Regions from separate parts of the Homo sapiens genome. Here region 2 is linked to region 1. Evidence: promoter capture Hi-C in 16 types of primary human blood cells and fetal thymus (Javierre and others, 2016). All regions are on one chromosome and are shown on one strand. The core of a region is centred on a gene start or on the middle of the fragment in contact, and the rest is flanking DNA. Distances in the headings are between cores, read along the strand shown.

Region 1 (6,081 bases), core at 570-3,069:
GGCGATGATACACGTATCACAATGTATCTATGCATTGTGTCTGCTTCCCAACTAAACTGTAAAACATGCAAATTGAGAGTAGGGTCAGTTGTGTTTTGCTGACCAAGTAGTGGGTAGCACATAGAGAACTTTAAATGTCATAAATGACTTAAACTGGGAGAGGTCAGAGAGCAAGGGTATTCCAGACTGGGAGAAATATCAGCAAAAGTTATGGATAGTAATGGTGGTATAAAGATTTTGTTTATATTGGCCAACTCTTTGCAGGTGATAACTTTATATACATGCACACACACACACACACACACACACACACACACACACCAGGACATACAAAGTACATGTATATTCTGAGTAGCTTAATAATTTTTGTTGTTGAGGATTTGGGAACAAAATACACGAAATTGTATTATATACTCAATTAAAATATCATCACAAACAAGCAAACTGCATCTCTGAAGTCTTTTCCATTTTTCATGCCATATTGCTGGATTTTTTATTCTAGGGTATGCTACAGGTGGGTGGATGGTCTTTTTCCTCCCTCCCATACACTCCATTTCCTTTTCTTCTTTTTCTTTTCTTTTCTTTTTTTTGAGATGGGAGTTTCGCTCTTGTTGCCCAGGCTGGAGGGCAATGGTGCGATCTCGGCTCACTGCAACCTCCGCCTCCCAGGTTCAATTCTCCTGCCTCAGCCTCCCGAGTAGCTGGAATTACAGGCGTCCACCACCATGCCCGGCGACTTTTTTGTATTTTTAGTAGAGTTGGGGTTTCACCATGTTGCCCAGGCTGGTCTTGAACTCCTGACCTCAGGTGATCCACCCGCCTCGGCCTCCCAGAGTGCTGGGATTACAGGCGTGAGCCACTGCGCCTGGCCCACTCCATTTCAACGATCTTACCCCACCGCCAGACAAAACTCATACTCATTTGTGTGATTCACGAAATATTTATTTAGTATCTACTATGTGCTACTACGTGCAGTGTTCTAAAGACCCTTGGATACATCAGGCAACAAAATTAAGAACCCTGCCTTTGAGGATCTTACATTCTGGGAGGATTGACAGACACTAACAATAAGGATACAAGCAAATCACAGAAATCCTAGAGCTGGGAAGGGAAGATGTGGACAAGTTTTTCACATCTGGAAATTTCAAATGAAGCACACTGTAAAATGTATACTAAGAATACTTTTACGGATCTTATTTATCTTGTTACCTGTTTGCCTGTCCTTTTAGGAGCACATGTCTTTTTTCCAGTCTGGGAATTTGTACAGTAATGATAATTAATAACTACCATGTACCGACATGCCTGCCGCTACCAGGCACCTTTCTGGGAGAGCCCATTAAATTCTCATGACATCCGAAAAGGCAGGTGTGATCATTCCCCTTTACAAAAGAGGACGCCGAAGTGCACACCCCGATGGGCGTCAGGGTTTCTTCCTTGCGCGCAGTGCGGATTTAGGCTAACCGACTGGATCTGGTTTATCTGAAGATGAAAAAAAAGAATGGCAAACCCACTTTCCGGATTTCTTCAAGCCGACGCGGGTGAGGTGTGCGAGCGCGCCCGGGATCCGCACTGAGTGAGGTTCCGCAGAGCCGGGAGACGGAGGAGGTGGGTCAGCCTGGGTCGCTGCCCTTGTCCAGCGCAACCCAAGACACCTGCGCGCCGGGTGGAGCCAGGGCTAGGGGTGGGGCCTGGGCTCCGGGAAGGGGGCGGGCCTGCCTTCCTCCAGTGCAAATGCGTCCTGGAGTGGTTTGTCCTACGTTGCGGCCCGTAGAGGCGCCGACTCACCGCCTCTTCTCCGGGAGTGGCGGAGATTCGATCATGTGACAGTCCGGAGGCCAGAACCGGGCAGGTTGCTTGAAGCGCAGGGGTTTGACAAAAACAAACGGTGACGGCGCCGCGGAAGGGTCTATGGCCGAGGCGGTGAAGCCCCAGCGCCGGGCCAAGGCCAAGGCCAGCCGGACTAAAACAAAGGTGAGGATCTCCCCCACCCTCCCGAGGCTCTGGCAGTGTGCTGTGTCTCCTTGCTCCTCTCTTCGGCCTCCCCAGCCAATTCTACTCCCGTTCCCTGAGCCCTCTGCATCTTCCGCCTCCACCTTCCAATATTTGATCCCACCACCCGTTGACACCGGCCCTTCTCCTCCATTCCTTCTCCATATCCCCCTGCCACACTCTGTCAGGACCCCATTTTTCCTTCTCCCTCCTGTGACTTCACTGGCCTCTTCCTTTTCTGCTCTCTTGGCTTTCCTCACCTGGGTCTGGTTTCCTGCCGTGAAATAATTTTTCTCTTTCCAGCCCCATCGTTGACTCTCTCTTTACTCTTTTATATCCTAGAACATTTTTAGTCCCTGCCATGCATAAAGAGGGAATGTTCCCCTCCTCCACGCGGAGAAGGTACCTTTGGCAGAACTTTATAAGTAGACTAGTGCTGTGCCATTTCTGATCACTTTGAAAGTTCAAGATGATAGTAGTGCTGCCTCTGTTTATTTCTTATTGTCTTGATTGTTTATAAGGGGCATGAATGGCTAGAAATTAACCCAGGGCGGGACTCACACAGTAGGGAAGTGTTTGAATTTTCTGAGTTTCCTGTATTAGACTACATGTGGTATTAGAGTGATTTTAAGTTGATTTGTTTATAAGTGCAGTCTGGATTTTCATTTTATTATAGTACATATATACACATATATACATATGTACACATATATACATATATACGTACATATATACATATGTGTGTGTGTATATATATGTATATGTATTTTTTTTTTTTTTTTTGAGACAGAGTCTTGCTCTGTCGCCCAGGCCGGAGTGCAGTGGCGCGATCTCGGCTCACTGCAAGCTCCGCCTCCCAGGTTCACGCCATTCTCCTGCCTCAGCCTCCCTCCCGAGTAGCTGGGACTACAGGCGCCTGCCACCACGCCCGGCTAATTTTTTGTATTTTTAGTAGAGACGGGGTTTCACCGTGTTAGCCAGGATGGTCTCGATCTCCTGACCTCGTGATCCGCCCGCCTCGGCCTCCCAAAGTGCTGAGATTACAGGCGTGAGCCACCGCGCCCAGCCTATGTTTTGTTTTGTTTTTGTTTTTGTTTTGATATGGAGTCTCGCTCTGTCGTCCAGGCTGGAGTGCAATCTCGGCGGAGTGCAATCTCGGCTCACCGCAACCTCCGCCTCCCGGGTTCAAGCGACTCTCCTGCCTCAGCCTCCCGAGTAACTGGGATTACAGGCATGCGCCACCACACACGGCTAATTTTGTATTTTTAGTAGAGACGGGGTTTCTCCTTGTTGGTCAGGCTGGCCTCAAACTCCTGACCTCAGGTGATCCGCCCATCTTGGCCTCCCAAAGTGCCCGGATTACAGGCGTGAGCCACCGCGCCCACCCTATTTATATATATTTTCTAAGATGAACAGATTAAATGCTGCTCCCGCATGGCCAGACCTCATAATTTTGGCTTACCTGAAACAGAGTTTACATTTGGGAAATAAGGAGGATGGTATTACAAGTACAGGACATTTTTTTCCCCAGAAGTGGGTGATGTTCCAAAGCAGGTGTAATTTAAGCATGATACTGTAATCCGATTTTCTCATGGGAACAAGGTTTTAACAGGAGGGTAGTGTTCATAGGTACCATACTTAGTAGACTGTAGATGACTTATGTGGATTTCTTTCATTATGATGCTCTTTTTTTTTCTTTCCAACTTTTATTTTAGGTTTAGAGGGTACAAGTGGAGGTTTACTACATGGGCAAATGCACACCTTGGTGGTTTAGTGTGCAGATTATTTTGTCACCCAGGTAATGAGTATAGTGCTTGACAGGTGGTTTTTTTATCCTTCCCTTCTTCCCACCTTCTGCCCTCAAGTAGGCCCTGGTGTCTATTATTCCCTTCTTTGTGTCCATGTGTACTTAATGTTTAGCTCCCACTTATAAGTGAGAACGTGGTATTTGATTTTCTGTTTCTGCATTAATTTGCTTAGGATAATTACCTCTAACTGCATCCATGTTGCTGCAGGGGACACGATTTTGTTCTTTTTTATGGCTGCATAGTATTCCATGCTGAGTATTTACCACGTTTTCTTGATATGACTTTTTAAACGGCTGTAGTGGAGTTAGACACATTGGTGTATCCAGGTCTGTGAGGAGTTATTCTGGTGAGAAAGTCATTTTGGTACCAAATTTCAGGAATTTTATTTATTTATTTTGAGACAGAGTTTCGCTTTTGTTGCCCAGGCTGGAGTGCAGTGGCGCGATCTCTGCTCACCACAACGTCTGCCACCTGGCTTCAAGCAATTCTCCTGCCTCAGCCTCCCGAGTAGCTGGGATTACAGGCTGGGTAATTTTTGTATTGTTAGTGGAGATGAGGTTTCACCATGTTGGTCAGGCTGGTCTCGAACTCCAGACCCCAGGTGATCTGCCCACCTCGGCCTCCCACAGTGCTGGGATTACAGGCATGAGCCACCACACCCGGCTCAGAAATATTTTTAAAAGAAATGCTTTTGCATTGTATTGGGTTGGTAAAGAACTATCCAGGCCCAGGAGGAAGAAAAAAGCCATTGGCCAGCTATGCATAAGATCCCTAAACCTACTTAACGATGAGACTACAGGAAAAAAAAGAAAACATACCTATCCAGTGAAGAAAAAAAAAAATTCCTGAACCTATAATGCAGTAGTGCATAACACATAAATGTTAGTTGTCTATGAGAGCAGAATCTTAAGTCTTAATCTCTAGTTTTTTTCCCCCAAGATATTGATGAAACTAAAGCCTCCGGGGATTAAATATTGCTCAGTGTCATGCAGTTCGTGAGAGAACTCAGGTTAAAGCCAGAAATCCTGACTCTCAATCCAGGAACTTAATAGTTATTTCATGTATCTGTATGTCTTTTGTCTTTCCATAGATAGAATGTTACAGATGCTTTAAAAAGTCTGTTAAGGGGATTCCCTCTTAATTTATTTTGTTTAAAACAATTTCTAAATTAAAAAGTTAAAAATCTTAAGCTTTTAGATCCATCATGAAAAACCAATTGATTATATTTTTTATCCATCTTAGGCAACTTTCCTATACAAACATACATTAATTTTTTTTTGTTAAAGTTTATGAAGAGGCCTTTATTTCAGAGGCATTTGGGCAAACCAAAAATCCTTGACATCTACTTTTGCTCACCCTCCAAATCTGATCATTCACTAAGTCTTGCCAATTGCATTTTCTAAATATTCTTTTGATTCTGTGCATTTCCTCTCCATCCTAACTAGTACAACCCTCCTCCAAGGAGGATTTCTTCTAAACTGGCCTCTTTACGTTCATTCTTGCTGCCCATTCTCTAAACTGAGCTGGATATATATTTTTCAAAACAAAACTGATCATGTTACTCTCCTCAAAACCTTTCAAAGGTTTCCCATCACTCAGAGGCTAGAGTCCAAAGCATGGACTAAGGGCTCTGTATGATCTTGCCTCTGTCTTCCTCCTCAGCCTCAGTTCTACCACCAATCCCAACTTTCTCTCTTTTCTTTTCTTTTTCTTTTTGAGACCGAGTCTCACTCTGTCACCCAGGCTGGAGTGAAGTGGTGTGATCTTGGCTCACTGCAACCTCTGTCTCTTGGTTCAAGCGATTCTCCAGCTTCAGCCTCCTGAGTAGCTCAGATTATGGTGCCTGCCACCATGCTGGGCTAATTTTTGTATTTTTAGTAGAGACGGAGTTTCACCACGTTGGCCAGGCTCTTCTCAAACTCCTGGCCTCGGATGATCCACCCATCTCGGCCTCCCAAAGTTCTCTTTTGATTCTTAACCTTTATATTCTTTCCTGCTTCAGGGCCTTTGCCCATGTTGTTTCCTCTGACACCCCTTCCTATCCCTTTTTACCTAGCCAGCTACTCATTTGTGAGGTGTCAGCTAAACAGTACTTCGTCAGAGAAGCTTTTTCTCATCTTCCTGGTGTCACTGCCTCTCCAATAGCACTCTGCTCCCCTCTGTGCCACTCATCTCATTTGTGGTTACTTTGTCAACATTTCTCTTCTCCCTTAGATTTTGAACTCACTGAGGGAGGGACCTGTCTTGTTCTCAGTACCCTTCGTAGCCTCTTTGTCACTTGATA
Region 2 (6,280 bases), core at 3,001-5,500, 92 kb before region 1:
CTGAATGACTGAAAAAACCATTAACTAACAGAAGGACATTGAAAAACTTTTGATATGTAGAACCAGGATGATTTCCTAAAGAGTGGGCCTATTCTCAGTGTTCCCAATAGTATGTGCGGATGCTAGTTTCACTCTGTCAGTCATAGCTATTGTCTTTTTTTCTGCTCATTCAATAAGCAAAACTTGGTGCCTTATTCAACTTTCATTTGCGTTTTTATCACCAGGGAGAGTGCACATTTGGTTATTTTCTTGTAATTCCTCTTTTACAAATGGTTTTGTTTTCTTCCTCATGCTTTGCTTGTAAATTTATATGCATATTTTAAAATATATATTTTTGTATATATACACGTGTGTGTGTGTGTGTGTGTGTGTGTAATTCACATGTTCTAACATCCAGTATAGGCATGACACAGTGAGAGGCAGTCCTCAGGCCCTCAAGCTTTTGCACTGGACATTCCCGGGTTTGATTCCCAGTTTGGCTCCTTTCAAGCCAAAGAATGTGTGTGCCCGTGTTCAAATTATTCAGCTTTCCTCAGCTTTGCCTCCTCATCTGTAAAATGATATATGTATATGGATTTTGAAAACACTTTATACAGTCAAGTTTATTGATCTAAAGTTTTGTGATTTCTTCTATTACACTTCGAGGTTTTCTGTGGTCCAAGTTTTACTCAATATGTGTCTTATGATTGGGCGCTGTGGCTCATGCCTATAATCCTAGTACTTTGGGAGGCCGAGGTGGGACAATTGCTTGAGTCCAGGGGTTCAAGACCAGCCTGGGCAACATATTGAGACCCTGTCTCTACAAAAAAAATTTTAAAATTAGCAAGGCATGGTGGCCAGTACCTGCAGTCCCAGATAATCAGGAGGCTGAGGCAGAAGGATCACTTGAGTCCATGCGGTTGAAGCTGCAGCGAGCCGTGATTACACCACTGCACTGCAACCTGGATGACAGAGCAAGACGCTGTCTCACTAAAAATACTGTCTTTTGAGTATGAGGGCTTAAGTGTTCTGACATTTGCAGAAGTCAGAGACCTGTGTGGACCTGCAAAATGAGGAGGAGGTGGATTCCTGCCCTCAGGGTCCTACATTCTTCTTAAGGAAGCAAACAAAGATGTAGGACACTAATGGGAAACAGACTGACCTACTCTCCTTCAGGCTAAAAAGAGTGGTTTACCTGCCGGGATGGTGGCTCCTGCCTGTAATCCCAGCACTTTGGGAGGCCAAGGCAGGTGGATCACGAGGTCAGGAGATTGAGACCTTCCTGGCTAACACGGTGAAACCCCGTCTCTACTAAAAGTAGAAAAAAATTAGCCAGGTGTGGTGGCATGTGCCTGTAGTCCCAGCTACTCAGGAGGAGAATTGCTTGAACCTGGGAGGCAGAGGTTGCAGTGAGCCGAGACTGCACCACTGCACTCCAGCCTGGGTGACAGAGCGAGACTCCGTCTCCAAAAAAAAAAAAGTGGTTTACTGGGGCAAGTTTCTTTTTCTTTTTCTTTTTCTTTTTCTTTTTAGTAGAGATGGGGTTTCACCATGTTGGCCAGGCTGGTCTTGAACTCCTGACCTCACATGATCCACCCACCTCGGCCTCCTAAAGTGCTGGGATTACAGGCATGAGCCACCATGCCTAGCATACCAGGGCAAGATTCTTGGACAAGTCTGGCTGGGTGAGTGCGATAGGGTACCACTCCTTGAAGAGTGCTAAAATGGCACCAGGCATGCAACAAGATGGGGAAATCTTTGTTTTCAGAATACCTCTCAGGGAGGGGATGGTGTGGCACAAGGCTGGAAGGCTGGAAGGAAGACTTGAATAAGCTGTTCAGGGTAGGGAGACTGAGACCCCATCCCTATCTGAAGCACATGCCTTCTAAAGGGCAGGAGCCTAACTAACTTCTGAGCTTAGTTTTGCTGAGTGAGGCATGCAAGCTGAACTGCCAGAGAAAGCAGTCTCCATGGTGTGTCCTCTTTACACTTGCCCTATAGTGCTTGGTCTCTGCTTCTATTTGAATGTTACTATTGAAAGAATAGCTGTTGGAAGTGATAGTTTCATAAGTGGCCACAAATATTCGAAAACCCTAGAAATATGGGCATCTAAGTCCCTTCACTGCTTCAAACCTTGGTGGCCCCACCTCTTGTAATCTGCTCTGAGCCCTTATTATCAAATACAGATATTGTTTTCTCTGTCCCAGGAGATCCAGATCCTGCCCTACAAGGACTGAACTAGGGGTTCAAAAAGACCTAAGCTCTCAGGAATAAAAAGTATTGACTCAGGCCTTTGTCAGCACTTCCGCAGATGGCCAGATCTGGGCACTGTTGATTTGTCCTGTGGGCTGTCTGTCCCAAGCTCAGGTTTCCTCATCTACCTGTCCTATGTTAGGGCCTAACTATTTAATCAGCGTTCTTGTCTAGTTCCTGCCCATAAGAGTGGTTGACCTTTACTGTGACCAACCACAGCCCAGAGCCACTATCTTGGCTGGCAGGCCTCTCCCTGGCTGATACAGACTGGTATTGCTTTTCCCTGGGCAGCATGGGCAGGAAGTTTGTGGATAAGGGACCTTGATGCTCCTGCCAGGTCCTCCGAATCTCCATCTCATCTGCTTCCTTTGACTTAGAGCTATTGTTTCTCAGTGCGAAGCAGCCTCATTTTGGTCATGAACTTCATATATGATTTTTTTTTTTTTTTTTGGTGAAATGGAGTCTCGCTCCGTTGACCAGGCTGGAGTGCAGTGGTGCAATCTTGGCTCAGTGCAACCTCCGCCTCCCAGGTTCAAACGATTCTCCTGCCTCAGCCTCCTGAGTAGCTGGGATTACAGGCACGCACCACCATGCCTAGCTAATTGTTGTATTTTTAGTAGGGATGGGATTTCACCATGTTGGCCAGGTTGCTCTTGAACTCCTGACCTCAAGTGATCTGCCCATCTCGGCCTCCCGAAGTGCCGGGATTATAGGTGTGAGCTACCACACCCAGCCTCCTGTATGATTTTTTATTAATGTGCATCTATTGGTGCATTCCCTCTTATCTGCCAACCACTGACCATTTCATCTCTGCTGTTTTATACGTGTCATTGTCAATTAGTAATGTAATATTGATGTCAAGGATAGAGTACTATAGAGTACAAGGCACCTGCCTGTGAGCACATGGCCCTTCCCTGCAGAAACTAAGCAGAAAAGCCCAAGGCCAAAGGGCTCAGCAAGTTATTGTAGAAGCCTGTCTGCTCTCAGAGGGCAAAGAAACCAGTCCTCTGGGCGGAGCCTCACATGGGGAAGCTGGAAGCCTGGAAAGACCAGCACCCTCCCCTGCCATGTAAAGTTTGAGTGTACAAAGACTGCAGCCATTTAGAGGGAATTGTGATTGATTCTGAGAGAACAGAAAATGGAGAGGGCAAGGCCACCAGCCAATGGCAGCCACAGCTCTCCTACCTTTATTAGGAGTCATTTGGGGTCTACACGCTATTGTACTCAGACTAAATGAGTGACTTGTCCAGTGCCACCCAGCTAACCACTCTGGACTTGAGCTTCCTGTTGTGCAGTGAGGATAATGATATCTGGCAAGCCCAATTTTAGGACTACAATGTGTTTCAAATGATAAAGTACGTCATAGTTGTGTTAAGGAGGTGGAATTGTGGGTAATGTGTTAGTATATCCACAGACTAGTTTCTTTGCAGTTAAATTAATTTTTAAAAATTTAGATAATGAATGAAAATGATGAGTGGAAATCACTTTCAAAAATTTAAGGAATTGCAGTGAAATACCATAGTGAAATAGAGTCCCTAATCACTAAAAATTATGATTTAAAACAAGCACCAGGAAAGATATTTGAAATATAATAATATTATAAAGATATTTAAATGACGATTTAAAACAAACACCAGGAAAGACACTTGTAATATTAAGTTTAAAAGAAAGTTATTAAACAATTTGGAAAACAAGACCTCATTTTAATTTTATTTATTTATTTTTGAGACGGAGTTTCACTCTTGTTGCCCAGTCTGGAGTACAATGGTGCAATCTCAGCTCACTGCAACCTCTGCCTCCCCGGTTCAAGCAATTCTTCTGTCTCAGCCTCCCTAGTGGCTGGGATTACAGGCATGTGCCACCACGCCCGGGTAATTTTTTTTGTATTTTTATTAGAGACGGGGTTTCACCATGTTGGTCAGGCTGTCTCAAACTCCTGACCTCAGGTGATCCACCCGCCTTGGCCTCCCAAAGTGCTGGTATTGCAGGTGTGAGCCACCACGCCCAGCCTAGACCTCATTTTTATTAAACAAAAAATGAAGACAGTCATATGTCACTAGGAAAATATATGAGGATTACATAGCAAATATCAACTATTGTTTTCTCTGGAATTTTAGACACTTTGAAAAATATTATTTTCTTTTTTTTAATCTATACTTAAAAATTTTCAACAATAAAATAAGTATAACTTTTAAAATAAAGAAATAAGACCAGGCGCGGTGGCTCACGCCTGTAATCCCAGCACTTTGGGAAGCTGAGGCAGGCAGATCACTTGAGGTCAGGAGTTCCAGACCAGCCTGGCCAACAAGGTGAAACCATGTGTTTACTAAAAATACAAAAGTTAGCTGGGCGTGGTAGCAGGCACCTGTAATCCTAGCTACTTGGTAGGCTGAGGCAGGAGAATCACTTGACCCTGGAAGGCAGAGGTTGCAGTGAGCTGAGATCGTGCCACTCCATCCAGCCTGGGTGACAGAGTGAGACTCTGTCTTAAATTAAAAAAAAGACCTGCCTGGCCATCACGTTGAAACACTGTCTCCATTAAAAATATGAAAATTAGCTGGGCATGGTCGTGCGTGCCTGTAATCCCTGCTACTCAGGAGGCTGAGGCAGAAGAATCACTTGAACCTGGGAGGCGGAGGTTGCAGCGAGCCAAGATCGCACCATTGCACTCCAGCCTGGGCGACAGAGGGAGACCCTATCTCACAAAAAAAAAAGAAAAAGAAAAAAAGAAAAAAAAAGAATTAAGAGGATTTCCCCCTAAAGTATTAAAAGAAGAGCAAGTATACTTGTTCAGACCATAGAATACAAAAAATACCAAACCTGCAACTTGTACCCAAACCCAGATGGAAGTGGACCAGCCTCCCAGGCAGTGTCCAGGGTCCTAGGTCCTGGCCACCTGCCTGTGGCAAGGCCACAACCATTCCCTTGAGGACACAGAGGGTCCCACCCCGCTGGTGACAGGACCTGCCTAATGACAATTATCTTGCAGCGAGACCTCTCCTCAGCACCCCTGCCTTTAAGCAGAGAGAACCGCCTATGGATTCCATGAGCTATTTATTTTTCATTTTTATTGGTACCTTAAAAAACTAGGAATGTAGGGCCAGGTGCAGTGGCTCATGCATGTAATCCCAGCATTTTGGGAGGCCAAGGTGGGTGGATCACGAGGTCAGGAGTTTGAGACCAGCCTGGCCAACACGGTGAAACCCCGTCTCTACTACAAATACAAAAAATAAATAGCTGGGTGTGGTGGCGCACCCCTGTAGTCCCAGCTACTCAGGAGCCTGAGGCAGGAGAGTTGCTTGAACCCGGGAGGAGGAGGTGGCGCTGAGCCGAGATCGTGCTACTACACTCCAGCCTGGGCGACAGAGTGATACTCTGTCTCAAAAAAACAAAAAACAAAAAAAAACTAGGAATATAACACATGCTTATTGTAAAATATCAAAACAATACAGATGTATATGGAGTAAAAAACCATAAAAATCCCTCCCTTAGCCTTCAAATCCCAACCTCCAGGGGTAAATTACTCATAGAGGATCTTTTCAGAGTCTTTTCCAGGAGTCTCCCATCCTATACAGGTAGGCAAGTGTAATTGTCTACATGAGATGTTGAAGAAGTGTACTTATTATCATGCTAAGGAATGGCAGGTTAGCAAGCCATCTCTTCCTCTGACCCAGAGTTTTGTATTTTTTAAAAAACATAAAAGTAGAAATTTTACCTGGTTTTTAAGATTATGGGTGATTTTTTTTTTTTTTTTTTTTTGAGACGGAGTCTCACTCTGTCACCCAGGCTGGAGTGCAGTGGTGCGATCTCCGCTCACTGCAAGCTCCGCCTCCCGGGTTCACGCCATTCTCCTGCCTCAGCCTCCCGAGTAGCTGGGACTACAGGCGCCCGCCACCACGCCCGGCTAATTTTTTGTATTTTTTAGTAGAGACGGGGTTTCACCGTGTTAGCCAGGATGGTCTTGATCTCCTGACCTCACGATCCGCCTGCCTCGGCCTCCCAAAGTGCTGGGATTACAGGTGTGAGCCACCACGCCTGGCCTATGGGT

The links. Contacts are between HindIII fragments. The CHiCAGO score rates a contact against its expected background, and 5 or more counts as called.
Region 2: a fragment that was not itself captured here is called in contact with the fragment with the promoter of EPG5 in region 1 in 1 of 17 cell types (neutrophils); the score reaches 6.0 in neutrophils.

The regions. Positions count from the first base shown.
Region 1 is chr18:45,963,067-45,969,147 of GRCh38, reverse strand. EPG5 (ectopic P-granules 5 autophagy tethering factor) reads left to right here and starts at 1,819. Exons shown (of 44, transcript NM_020964.3): 1 at 1,819-1,971. The coding sequence starts at 1,909. RefSeq lists an enhancer at 1,559-2,060. The HindIII fragment of the contact is 12,390 bases long and covers 1-4,989 here.
Region 2 is chr18:46,057,709-46,063,988 of GRCh38, reverse strand. The region is part of intron 1 of PSTPIP2 (proline-serine-threonine phosphatase interacting protein 2); the gene reads left to right. Among named protein-coding and RNA genes, the nearest start is that of PSTPIP2, 11 kb to the left of the region's middle. RefSeq lists enhancers at 1-138, 199-248. The HindIII fragment of the contact is 7,617 bases long and covers 442-6,280 here.